Regions from separate parts of the Homo sapiens genome. Here region 1 is linked to region 2. The links are contacts of gene promoters, found by promoter capture Hi-C in blood cells and fetal thymus (Javierre and others, 2016). All regions are on one chromosome and are shown on one strand. Each heading gives the region's core, a stretch centred on a gene start or on the middle of the fragment in contact. The rest is flanking DNA. Distances are from core to core; before and after follow the strand shown.

Region 1 (6,310 bases), core at 3,528-6,027, 410 kb after region 2:
AGTGACACAGACCACATGCCCTGGGAGAAGGGACCGTGGTCCCTGCTGGGTCCTCAGCACCTGGCTCCTGCACGCCCGCCCAGCAAGTACTTGGCACAGGGGTTGCTCATGAGTTCAGCAGTTAGCTGCTGAGCCCTCCTGAGTGCCAGGCACTGTGCTGCGCAGCTCAAATCCACCATTTCACTCACTCCTTCCTGCTACCCACATAGCAGCTGGGTTTGTTTTACTGAAAGAGTCTCAGAGAGGGGAAGTGATTTCCTCAATATCACACAGCCAGAAAGTGGCAGAGCTTGGGTTTGAAGCCAAGTTTAACCAACTCTGGGCTTCATACCCTGCAAAGGGTCGGATAAGTGTAGAACCCCAGGGCTGGAAGTCCCTAAGCAAGGCAGTCAGGAACAGAAGGCAGGGAAGGGGTCTGTGGGCCCTAAACAAACAACAAAGGGCATGGTGCTTGGTTTAAGCACAGGGCACATGGGTCACCTCCCCAGCACATCCCTGCCAACCCACCCACCCCGCCTCCCAACCAAGAATGCCCCATTAGGCTACCCACATGCCCCCAGGGACAGTTGGCAGCTGCCTGATTACAGACTAATTGGTGGCTGGCAGCAACTATGGTGGGGTGGGGGAGATGGCTCATTAACCCCTTGTTGACCAGGCCCAATCCTCCTCCCATGACTTCAGGCCCCAAACCCAAGGAACCCAGACTTAAGAAGTCATCATGGATAGAGGACAGGACCAAAGGAGCAGCAGCCTTCTTCCCTACATCCTGATAACACCCCTGGGGCTAGGGTTGGACACATATTCACCCAGGTGTCCAAGCCCTGAAGGACCACATTGAAACAGGCCCCAAGTGGCAGTGCCAGCCAATGCCCCCTGTTCTCCAGCCTTGATATGCCATTGCCCACCCCATTCCAGGATCCTTCCTGAGCCTTCAGGACCAGGACACTGAAGAAACCCACTCCTCAGGGCTGAGTTGTCCAGAGGTGATGGGGACATGGAGTCCAGGTACCCAGGCGGCCAGTCAGGGAAGAGCTCCTCCCTATGAATGAGAGCATGCCCAAGTTGCCCATCAAGGGTCCTGCCAAGCCTCCCTGAACCCTGGGCTCTGCACCATGCTGCTGACCAACTGCATTCCCAGCTTCCCAAAGCCCCCTCTTCCCACCCCAGGGCTGGAGTAAGCAGCACTCCTTTTCTTTTATGGGGTGGAGGGGGTCCTCTGGACACCACAACGGTGTCACGTTGAGGAAAAAGTGGCTGCTTCTCAACCAGGGCACAGGCAGAAGGGAGAAAAGCAGGCTGCCTTCCAGCTCCCTTTCCAGGAGGGATTTTAAGCACTTTCCAAAAATGCCATGCCAGGCAATGCTGTTGAAGACCAGGGCCCCAGGAGCTCTGAGCATCAGCAAAGAACTCAAGACTCTGGGCCCCCTTCCCCATTTTCCAGGCTTCCCCAAACACCCCACGTCCCTCTCTCATCCCTTAGTCCCCTCCCCAGAGCCCTCTCACACCCTGTGTTCATCCCCCCACCCCCGCCCCTGCACACTCACATACCTACGTTGCGCTTCATGGCCAGAGCCCCCCTCCCCCCGTGGTCCTCCAGACCTCTGCAGCCCCCTCCCCACGTCCACTCCCAGGCGAGCAAGGCCTGCTGACTTACCCGGAGGTGGGGCCGGGGTCCAGACAGGGAGGGGGCCTCCACAGGCCGAGGCGGCTCCGCAAGGCGGGGCAGGTGCTGCCCCGGGACCCCGCCCCGCGAACCCGGCAGTAGGCGCGGCCCGGCCCCAGGCTGGCGCGGACTCCGAGTGGATAGGCACGCGGGGCGGGGAGGGGCGGCGAGGGAGGCTCACGGGGGCATCGCCCGCCACCACGGGGGCAGCTCCGCTCCGCCCGCCTGCGCTGCCGGCTCCGCAGCAGCCACCGTTTTCAGTCGCCGCCGGGTGCAAAGCCCAAGCTTGGGCCGGCGGGAGGCGAAGGGGAGGCGGGGCCTGCCGGGGGCGGGGCCGCGTGGATGGGCGGGGCCAGTGGGCCGGACCTTGGTGGTGGGCGGGGCCTAGGGGAATCCGGGGAGTTTGGCTTGCCGGGTTGTGGTTGGGGGACCTACATTAATGAGGCTTCCAAGAAGCGGGGTCTGGGGAAGCCTCATTCCTCTCCGTGTCCCTAGGACTCTCTTGCCTCCTGCCCGGCCTCCCCTCTCCACCACCTACCCTATCTGTTCTTTCTCATCCTTCCTTTTCTTTGGGGCACCTCCCAGGACCTCACAGGCACCACGGCGCCCCCTGCCCTGCCCTGCCCTGAAGCAGTTCCAGGAACGTCAGATGGTAAGAGAAGAAACGACTTACAAACGTCAAGTCCATTTTACAGATGGAAAATCTGAAGCTCAGATAGGAGAAAAGACTTGCCCAAGTGCCTGGTATGAAGAGAAAGACTTTATAATGTCCCTTTCAGACAGAAGGAAGTAGAGTGGCCGGCCCTGAAGCCCAAGTTAACCTGCTTCCCCTGCGCTCTCTACTTCTAGAGCAATGGTTTTAAACTTGGGGCGATTTTGCCCCCCAGGGAACATTCGACCATGTCTGGAGACATTTTTGGTTTTCCCAACGAGGAGGTTGCTACTGGCGTCTCATGAGAAGAGACCAGGGATGCTGCTACACGCCTTCAATGCACAGGACAGCCCCTGCGCCAGAGAATTGTCAGGCCCGAAATGTCAGCAGGTTTCTGAGGTTGAGAAACTCTGTTCTAGGGCCTGGCATCTGCCTATATAAACTTCCAAATAGACTCCTGGAGTCCTGGGTTCTTCTGCAGCCCGGGAGGATACTGTATGAAGTCTTTCCTAGGGTCGTGCCTGCCCCAACTTGTATATTTAACCTTGCTTAGGACTGGTCAGTTCCACTCTTGGGCTCCAGTGTTTTGAATTCCACCCACTGACAGAGAGGACAGAATAATTAATATTTGCTGGAGGCATGTAAAACCAGTAGTCTCCCTGCTGAGGGCATGAATTAAAATGTAAATGGGAGCTGGGTGCGGTGGCTCATGCCTGTACCAGTGTTTTGGGAGGCCAAGGTGGGTGGATTGCTTGAGGCTGGGAGTTCGAGATCAACCTGGCCAACATGGTGAAACCCCATCTCTACTAAAAATACAAAAATTAGCCAGGTGTGGTGGCACACAACTATAGTCCCAGCTACTCGGGAGGCTGAGGTACGAGAATCACTTGAACCCAGGAGGCGGAGGTTGCAGTGAGCCGAGGTCGCACCACTGCACTCCAGCCTGAGTGACAGGGGGAACTCTGTCTCAAAAAAAAGTAAATGGGGAGTGGGAAGGTGGGGAGAAAAAGGAAAATTATTGGGATTAAAGGATCCTCCTGGGGATTGCTAGGAGGCATAGTCATCCTACGCCTTCCCTTCTCACCTGGTCTGTGAGAAGCATAAACTGAGGCCCTACAATGTGAAAAGCCTCAAAGTGCGTTCCATAGCTGGTCAGAGGTGGAGCTGGGGCTCCTGATTATATTTACATATTAATTAAAGCTTTGTTATCAGCTATTCTACCTCAGGCCTAGGCCTGGACTAGGGCCTGGGTGGTAGAATGGGTTACTCTGGAGCAGCAAGGGGGACTAGATTAGGGGAGGTGGGATGGAGGCCAGGGCAGGACCTGGAACGAGGGTGGAGGTGAGGGGTGGGAGCACAGAGAGGAATCAGGCTTCCTGTGTGCTCCTCCCTGGCCCCTTTCACAGAGACAGGTAAACCAGGGGTTCCCTTTGCACATCTGATGAAAACTTAGCACTATCTCTCTGGAGATGTGCAATGTATATTTTGCATATAATTTCAGTATCTTCAAAGTTCTATATTGGTTACCAGAAGGACTGGATGGGAGGTGGGTGGAGAGGGGGTTGATTCTTAAGTGTATATAGAAGAATAAACATACAGGAATAAAAAGTCCAGGAAGAAAAGTAATGAAAAGGGATTTGTCTTACCCGATACTAAAACATACTATAAAGTCAATGTATTTAAAGCAGTATGGTATTGAAGCAGGACTAGACCGATCTGTGGAACAAAATGGAGTATGGAAATGGATCCAGCCCCACAAGGGAATTCAATGTATGATAAAGATAGCACTTCAGGCCCGGCACAGTGGCTCATGCCAGTAATCCCAAAACTTTGGGAGGTTGAGGCGGGCAGATCACTTGAGACTAGCCTGGGCAACATGGCAAAACTTTGTCTCTATAAAAAAATACAAAACTTGTGGCCGGGGGCGGTGGCTCACACCTGTAATCCCAGCACTTTGGGAGGCCGAGGCAGGCGGATCACAAGATCAAGAGATTGAGACCATCCTAGCCAACATGGTGAAACCCTGTCTCAACTAAAAATACAAAAATTAGCTGGGTGTGGTGGCATGCACCTGTAGTCCCAACTACTTGGGAGACTGAGGCAGGAGAATCGCTTGAACCCAGGAGGCGGAGGTTGCAGTGAACTGAGATCGCACCACTGCACTCCAGCCTGGTAACAGAGCAAGACTCTGTCTCAAAAAAAAAAAAAAAAAAAAAATTTATCTGGGCATGATTGCACACACCTGTAGTCCCAGCTACCAGGGAGGCTGAAGTGGGAGGATTACCTGAGCCTGGGAGGTCAAGGCTGCAGTGAGCTGTGATCACGCCACTGCACTCCAGCCTGGGCAACAGAGCAAGACCTTGTCTCTAAATGAATGAATGAATAAAAGACAGCACTTCAGACAAATGGGGGGCGGAGTTGGTAGGGGGTTGTGGGCGGGGGGGGGGGGGTTGGTGGCGGAGATCAAATGGGTGGAATAACCAGCAAGTCTTTTGGGGAAATTACAAAAAGCTGTGCCCTTATTCGACACTGAAATAAATTCCAGGTGGACCACATATTTAACACCATAATGTATCAGAAAAAAGACATGAGTGAATATTTTAATAATCTTGGAGATGGAAAAGACTTTCTAAGCATGATGAAACCTAGAAGCCATAAGAGAAAACATGGAAATGTTTGACTACAAGGCTTCTATACAGAAGAAATGGCCATAAGTCAGTTTGAAAGACAAATGACAAAACGGAGGGGATATATCCTGGTTGCCCCCTACCCTGTCCCCTCCTGCCCGCCAGCCCCTCCAAGCCGAGACGGGGACGAGCAGGAGGGATGGCTGGGGCTGTGAGAGTCGAGACCGAGCACCTGGCAGAGGCTTCTCCTGCGGCGCTCTGGCCAGCGCCCACATGTTTAGGGGCCGGGAAGTCCCGGAAACCCCAGGCGGGCCATCTGGGTCCTCAGCAGGTGCCTTGGCACAGCCGAGCCGAAGTCCTCCTGGAGGCTGCTCACCACTTCCCTCGCGTGGCCATCCTAAGAACTGCAATCCTCTGTTCCTGCTCAGCCCCTTCTGAGCATCAAGGCGAGAATTTAAAAATAAATAAATAACAGCTAATTTTTTGAGGGAACTAACCATGTTCCAGGCATTGTGTTAAACACTTAACCTAGCATATTTCATTTTCCCCTCAAAACAGCTCTTCGAGGTAGGTGCACTGTATTCTTATCTCCATTTGATGGACGGAAACTGAGGCTTGAAAAAAGTGACTTGTCTTTCTAAGTGGTGGCACCAGAATTTACTGCCACATTCCTGGCCTCAGCTCTTAATGTAATAAAGCCAAACCTTTGGGAAAATTCAATAAAACAAACTTTTTTGAGGTTTACCTTTATCCAGGCCTTTTGCAGGTGCTGGGGATTCTGAATTGAGGAAAATAGTCATCAGAGGTGACAGCAGAGGAACACTCCTGATACAGCGAATCCTGATGGCTACAGAGGACTCATTCACCCCAGGAAGCGGTGGGGGCAGTGGGGAGGGATCCCAGAGGAGACGTCCTCCAAGCTGCATCTTGTGGAGAGAGAGTAGTGGGGTGGCACTTACTAAGGTGGGCTGGATGACAAGTGGGGCTTGGGGGAGGAGCAGTGATCTATATGCTCTGAGTTTGGGGGTAGACCACAGATGGGGCTGAATAAAGTACACCAGGACCAAGCTAAGGAGTTTGGGTGCAAAGATTTTTTTGAAAGCTTTTCCATGTTTCAGTTGCTTGGGTCTAGGGACAGCCTGCTCTGCCAACCCAACCTGCCTCCTTTGCAGATGCTTTCTCACCCCAGTTCAAGGTGCTCTCAGAAACTTGGGAGTCCCTCCTGATTCCTTCCTCTTCCTCACTTCTATCCACTTAATTATCAGAGCCATCCAGTTTGCTTCCTAAATACTTCCTAGGTTCACCCACTTCTCTCCATCCCTCTTGCCTCTCCTCTAGTCCAGCCTGCCTTCCTGTCACTCCTGAATT
Region 2 (6,719 bases), core at 1,451-3,950:
CTTCCTTGACCAACTTATGTAAAGCAGCATCCCTCACACCAACATGCTGTATTGCCTTTTTGCTGCTTTTTCTTCATAGCACTTATCACCACTTCCACTTTTACTATTAAATATTTGCTTATTATTTATCAAACACTGCATCCACCCCAGCTAAGAATGTAAGCTCCAGGAGAGGGGCTTTGGTTCACTGCTATATCCCTGGCACCTGGAAATGCGTCTGGCATTTCGCAGACATTCAGTATTTATTGAATGAATGAATTCCAGTCAGTCTTGGCTTTTTGACACCTCGGCCTCCTACTCTCCTATCTCTTCAGACACATGGTGACAGATCAATGCTATGATGCCCCTCTCCCAAGCAGTAGCTAACCTTTATTGGGCACTCAGGGCCATCTACATTGCTAGGAGCTTTACATGAATTTTCTCATTTGATCCTAACAGTATGAGAAAGTAAGTACATACTATGTTATTCTCATTTTACTGATGAGGATCTGATGCACAGATTAAAGAACGTGCTAATACATGGTGCGGCCGTGGCTGGCAATCAAGCAGCTTGACTCTAAACCTGTGCCCTTAGCCACAAAGCTTGGGTGGTAGAAGCTCCTGTGAGGCTTTGGACTCACAGACAGCTGAAGTCAAGAGTGAAGAGGGCATAGCAATGATGGCCTGAGGGAGAGAAAATTTTGAAAAAGTGTTTACCCCTTATATATTTAAGTTGGTATCTAACTGGTTCCATCATAAATTCAAATAGTTGCAATGGATGTAAATTCTTGCAAATTGTAAATACTGACATTTTAAGATAAAACTGTTAAATCACTCTTTATAATGTATCCAAGAGAATCTACATAACAACTGAATAACCACCATTATGCATTAAAACATACACTAATGAGCTCTTCAACATTGTTCTTTTATTATCTCTAACATATTTAGATTGTACTCTAACAAAAAATGTTATTCAAATATAGTACTTTGATGTTTGAACAACCTTTTCTTGATCACTTCTTCGCAATAAAAATATGACATATGTAGTAAACCTTAAAAAATTTCGTGTAACTTTATGGCTCTACGCTGGAATTCTTCTGAAGTGAGTAATCATCACAATCATCTTTAGTATATAATGGATCAAAATGACACGATTGCAAATATTGATAACACACAGTTATAAAAGGTGAAATTCTATTGGGAACACATCTCTTAGTGAGATAGATGGGGCTGACCCACCAATTAATTCATTTATCTGGATGAATAGTTCCTACTGGTAGATTAACAGGGTTCATTTTCAATTCTGTTGTTTTCACAGATACAAGTGCTGAGAAATGGTTTTACATAAATAGGTGAGAATGCTAGTAGTTTTGTTGTAAGCATGTCAATCAATCGTTTGGTTTCTTTCCGAGTTGCATGCCAAAAACCAAATAGTGTTCCTTCATCAGCTGACAATTCATGGGCCACCATTAATTTTGTTGAAAGCAAAGAACTGGAAACCATCTGACTTGAAAAGAATTTGTTATCCTGTTATTAGAGTCATTCACTTTCTCTAGTGACTTTTAATTATACTAATTACTCTCAGAGGCATTTAGGCAGGGTTGAGAAATTCAAGATATTAATTTCAACACATCTTTAGCATCACAATATCACAGTAATTTAAATATATTTTAGTTGTAGCTATTTAGCTCACTTTATTGTAAATAATAATTATGCTAATTAGCAACGATAGTATGTTTAACCAATTAATCATCAGATTAACTTTCGGTCAGAATAATGGACTTCAATTTTTAAGTCAAAGCAATGTACAGGCGTCCCAGTCACCATATTTCACTTCTGAATTCCAAGAGAGAAATGGCGTTGCGCCTTACTGACGCAAATATGTACCTAGATAAAGTAAGACGCTTTCATTTCAGGTATGTCTAACCCACGCTATCCTTGCTTTGTTCCAGGGCACTCTCGCAGGGAAAACGCCGCCTCTGACTACACTTGGGGTGGTTAAGACGAGATCTTCAAATGAAAATTCTCAACGCTACCGTCCACTCTCTCATACGCTTGAATTCCGAACACCCCAATACTGGCCAAAAGACTCCATTTCTCATGCTTGGTCTTGCTTTTGAGGTAGCTCTAACTCAGAGGCACGATTTTTAGAGCCTGGGAAGTCGGCTGCTGTTCAGTCCTTCCTAGCCTCCTCAGGCGGGAGCCGCGGCCCACTCAGTCAGTTGCGGCCCACTCAGTCAGTTCCGGCCCCAGCCCCGACTACCTGTCGCCTTGTTGGGGGAAGGAAGGCAGATACCGCAGCCCAGTCAGGGTAAGCCGCTGACCCAGAGGATGGAACTGCGGCTCTGGAGATTAGAAAGAGGAGGACTTCGCCGCGTTCACTAGCCCAGGAGGAAAGCCAGAACCCTAGGCCGGAACCCAGCGTCAAGACGTGGGGGAAGAATGTTGATGCAACACAGCTCAGCCGGGCCCGGAACTCGGCGTTTGGGTCCCCGCCCTCTTTGGGCCGGAAGTGAGGAAGGTGGGGCTGGGGCTTTTCCTGTAGAAACTAGGAGGGACTAGGGAGAGTCTGCAAGGGGAAGAGTGTGTCTGTGACACTGCCAGCAGCGCGCAGAGGGAGGGATGGGGGCGGGTATCGGCGTAGGGGCCCTCGGAAAGAACGGATATTGCTGTGACACCGCGGGGACGCTCTGAAGGGACGAGTGTCGGTGTGGCACCGGTGCACGCTGAAGGAGCCGGCGGAACCGGGTGGCCATGGGGATGTGGGCATCGCTGGACGCTTTGTGGGAGATGCCGGCCGAGAAGCGTATCTTCGGGGCCGTGCTGCTCTTTTCCTGGACAGTGTATCTTTGGGAGACCTTCCTAGCACAGCGGCAGGTGAGCCTAGACAGGGTCCAACCTGACCCCCATACCCGGCCAGCCCTGGAGTAGCCTTGGCTTCGACCCTGAGACTCTTGATTGCTTCGGTCCCCGCGCCAGTCTCGTCTTTGTGGTCCCTGCTGAGTCTCGTAACTTGGCCCGATGGCGGACTGTGGCTTTGAGGAGGGTCTTGGTGCGTCAAGGAAGTTTTCTGTAACGTTATCATGGGACCCAATCCCTTTAGGGCCTGGAGGAAGGCTTGGGCTCTTGTGCCCTCCCTGCAGCTTCCTTGGGATCCTTGGGCCCAGACTTGGCCTCCTTTATCTTTGGAATAAGCCTTTAAAAGGATTTAGACACCCAACTTCCTCATGACATTTATGTAATCATGCCTAACCATAGGATTTTGCAGTCCTTCCAAGAACTTGCACTCTTGTTTCTCCTTAAAGTGCATATATTGTTTCTGCTTGAAAAAACAAACAAACAAACAAAAAACTTATCGGGCCCGGCGTGGTGTCTCATGCCTGTAATCCCAGCACTTTGGGAGGCCGAGGCGGGCGGATCACCTGGGGTCAGGAGTTCGAGACCAGCCTGACCAACGTGGCGAAAACCCGTCTCTACTAAAAATAGAAAAATTAGCCGGGTGTGGTGGCGCGCACCTGTAGTCCCAGCTACTTGGGAGGCTGAGGCAGGAGAATCATTTGAACCCAGTAGGCGGAGGTTGCAGTGAGCTGAGATTGTGCCACTGCACTCCAGCCTGGGCGACAAGAGTGAAACTCAATCTCAAAATAAATAAATAAATGAAATTAAATGAAATATATTTCTCGTTTTTCATAAAATCAACATTATTTTAGTTTAAATATTAAAATGGTAAAATAAAAAGTGAAAGTTAACAATTTACCTGAGATAACCATGGTTTAGAGATCTGAACTTTTATTTATTTATTTTTAATCTTTATTTATTTATTTAATTTTAGAGTCTAGCTCTGTCACCAGGCTGGAGTACAGTGGCGTTATCTCGGCTCACTGCAAGAAACTAGGAGGGACGAGGGAGAGTCTGCAAGGGGAAGAGTGTGTCTGTGACACTGCCAGCAGCGCGCAGAGGGAGGGATGTTCAAATGATTCTCCTGCCTCAGCATCCCGAGTAGCTAGGATTACAGGCACGTGCCACCACGCCCAGCTAATTTTAGTATTTTTAGTAGAGACGGGGTTTCACCATCTTGGCCAGGATAGAATATTTATTGTATTTAGAGACAGGGGCTCACTCTGCCACCCAGACTGGAGCACAGTAGCATCATCATAGCTCAAGGCAGCCTCGAACTCGTGGGCTCAAACGACCCCTCCACCTCCACCTCAGCCTTCTGAGTTGCTAGGACCACAGGTGCGGATCACTGTGCCTGGCTAATTGTTTGATTTTTTTGTAGAGATGTTGCCCGGGGTGGTCTGGAGTTCCTGGACTCAAGTCATCTTGCCGCCTCCACCTCCCAAAGGGCTGGGATTACAGGCATGAGCCACCGTGCTCGATCTCCCCTCAGCTTTTATTGGCACACAACAATATATAGGGAAAGCATGTTGTAGTGGCCCATTATTTTGTTTGGTATCCATTCTCTGTATTACATTTCCTGGACTGAAATTACCCTTACCTTTTATAATTTAGTATAATGAGATAGTTGATCTTTCTCCTTTTTTTTTTTTTTTTTTTTTTTTAAGGAGATAGATTCTCTGTCACCCAGGGTGTAGTGCTGTGGCACAATATGGGCTTACTGCAACCTCTGCCTCCCAGGCTCAAGTGATCCTCCCACCTCAGCCCCCCAAATAGCTGGGACCACAGGTGCATACCACCACACTCTGCTAATTTTTGTATTTTTTGTAGAGACGGGATTTCACCACATTGCTCAGGCCAGTCTTGAACTCCTGGGCTCAAGGAATCCTTCTGCCCCTGTCTTCCAAACTGCTGGGATTACAGGCGTGACCCACCGTGCCCGGCTGAAAATTGGTCTTTTCTCACAGACCTGATATGTTTCCATCTGGTGATCCTCAAGTTTCTGGCATTTAGGACCAAATTTAATGAGCAGCCTCAGTATCTGTTCATACTCACAGTTAGCATGTGTGCTTCTCCTTTGCATGAATTTGTTTTCCGTATTATAGGAGGTATGTAATACCCAGAATGAGTAGTACATGTAACAAAGTTGTGATGTTAACAGCTTTGGTTTACATATACAAACTGAAGTGTGATGACAACCCTGATTATAGTTTTACCAGTCAGGTCACCTCAGGTTCTCTTGTTCTGCTTTTATTTTCCTGCATCAGTCGTTTCATGTACTTGATCAAGTGCAATATTTGTGTAGGTATAAAGCAAATTCAACAGATATAAGTGGCAAGCTATAAACCATTCGATGTTTGATCATAAATGACTATTGTAATAAACAACTATTTCACTAAAGTGTTTTCTTTAAAATATTTCAGAGAAGGATATATAAAACAACAACTCATGTACCACCGGAGTTAGGACAGATCATGGATTCTGAAACATTTGAGAAATCTCGACTCTATCAACTGGATAAAAGCACTTTCAGCTTCTGGTCAGGACTCTATTCAGAGACTGAAGGCACTGTGAGTAATTTACTTCTTGGAGAGACAGTCTGTCTGGTTGTTTTCATTTTCATATTTTTGTAACACAAAAGAGGGTACCACACTTACAAGTCCCAGAATGCTTTCTTAACCTTTGTTATTGATAGTAACGGCTGTGGAGCAAAAAAGACAGAAACATAACTGCTTAGTCAGTTGAAAACTATAGAATATGGGAACTATTACCCTGAAGCCAGGTAGGAAAAAGATCCTCTTCCATTAGGATCCAGCTGAGATGTCATGTCTTCTAAGCAACCATTTGAAACTCCCTGCCTGACGAATGTGGATAGGGTAGCATTCTATCATTATTCCTGTCAGAGTACTTATCTCATTATGTTGAATTTGCCTGGATTTTTTTTTTTTTCTTCTGGCACAGTCTTGCTCTGTCACCCAGGCTGAAGTACAGTGGCGTGATCTTGGCTCACTGCAACCTCTGCTTCCTAGGCGCAAATGATCCTCCCACCTCAGCCTCCCGAGTAGTTGGGACTACAGTTGCATGCCACCATACCGTCTCAGAGTGCTGGGATTATAGGCATGAGCCACACTGTACCTGGCCTGATTTGACTGTTTAATTGGCAGACTGGTAGTTCCTTAAAGAAATAGTTAAGTCTTGTTCATCATTTTATACCTAGTGCCTGGCATGTAATCAGCATATAGTTCCTATTTATTGAATGAAATAATGTGGGGTTTTTTTGTTGCTTTTTTTGTTTTGTTTTGTTTTTGTTTTTGAGCAGTGTCTTGCTCTGTCGCCCAGGCTGGAGTGCAGTCGCACGATCTTGGCTCACTGCAATCTCCACCTCCCGGGTTCAAGCGATTCTCCTACCTTAGGCTCCTGAGTAGCTGGGACTACAGGCGCGTGCCACCACACCTGGCTAATTTTTTGTATTTTTAGTAGAGACGGGGTTTCACCATGTTAGCCAGGATGGTCTCGATCTCTTGACCTCGTGATCTGCCTGCCTTGGCCTCCCAAAGTACTGGGATTACAGTCATGAGCCACTGTGCCCTGCCACTTTTATTTTTATCATCCTGATCATCATCATCATCATTTCTCTAGAACTTTTAGATCTACTAGTACCACTAAGAGAAAGATTCCTAAATTTAAAAGAATTATGATCAGCTACCATCATTGTTTCATGAGTTAAAGAAACTGGCTTTATGTAGCTGTGGTAAATGACAGAATTGTCTAGCTCATCACAAAATTTTTCTTAACAAGTATGGAATAATAAGACTAGTGTGGTTAGATCCAAATTATTA

What was found. Contacts are between HindIII fragments. The CHiCAGO score rates a contact against its expected background, and 5 or more counts as called.
Region 1: a fragment that was not itself captured here is called in contact with the fragment with the promoter of ZMPSTE24 in region 2 in 1 of 17 cell types (neutrophils); the score reaches 5.4 in neutrophils.

Annotation. Positions count from the first base shown.
Region 1 is chr1:40,663,740-40,670,049 of GRCh38, forward strand. LOC105378675 (a long non-coding RNA gene) reads left to right here. Exons shown (of 2, transcript XR_947238.3): 2 at 2,249-3,937. RIMS3 (regulating synaptic membrane exocytosis 3) reads right to left here and starts at 1,943. Exons shown (of 8, transcript NM_014747.3): 1 at 1,655-1,943. RefSeq lists enhancers at 1-211, 5,172-5,321, 5,382-5,431 and a silencer at 1,659-2,088. The HindIII fragment of the contact is 2,529 bases long and covers 3,514-6,042 here.
Region 2 is chr1:40,255,536-40,262,254 of GRCh38, forward strand. It overlaps ZMPSTE24 (zinc metallopeptidase STE24), which reads left to right and starts at 2,701. Exons shown (of 10, transcript NM_005857.5): 1 at 2,701-2,859; 2 at 5,304-5,450. The coding sequence starts at 2,737. RefSeq lists enhancers at 1,932-2,061, 2,292-2,561, 2,642-2,921, 3,012-3,111. The HindIII fragment of the contact is 15,848 bases long and covers 581-6,719 here.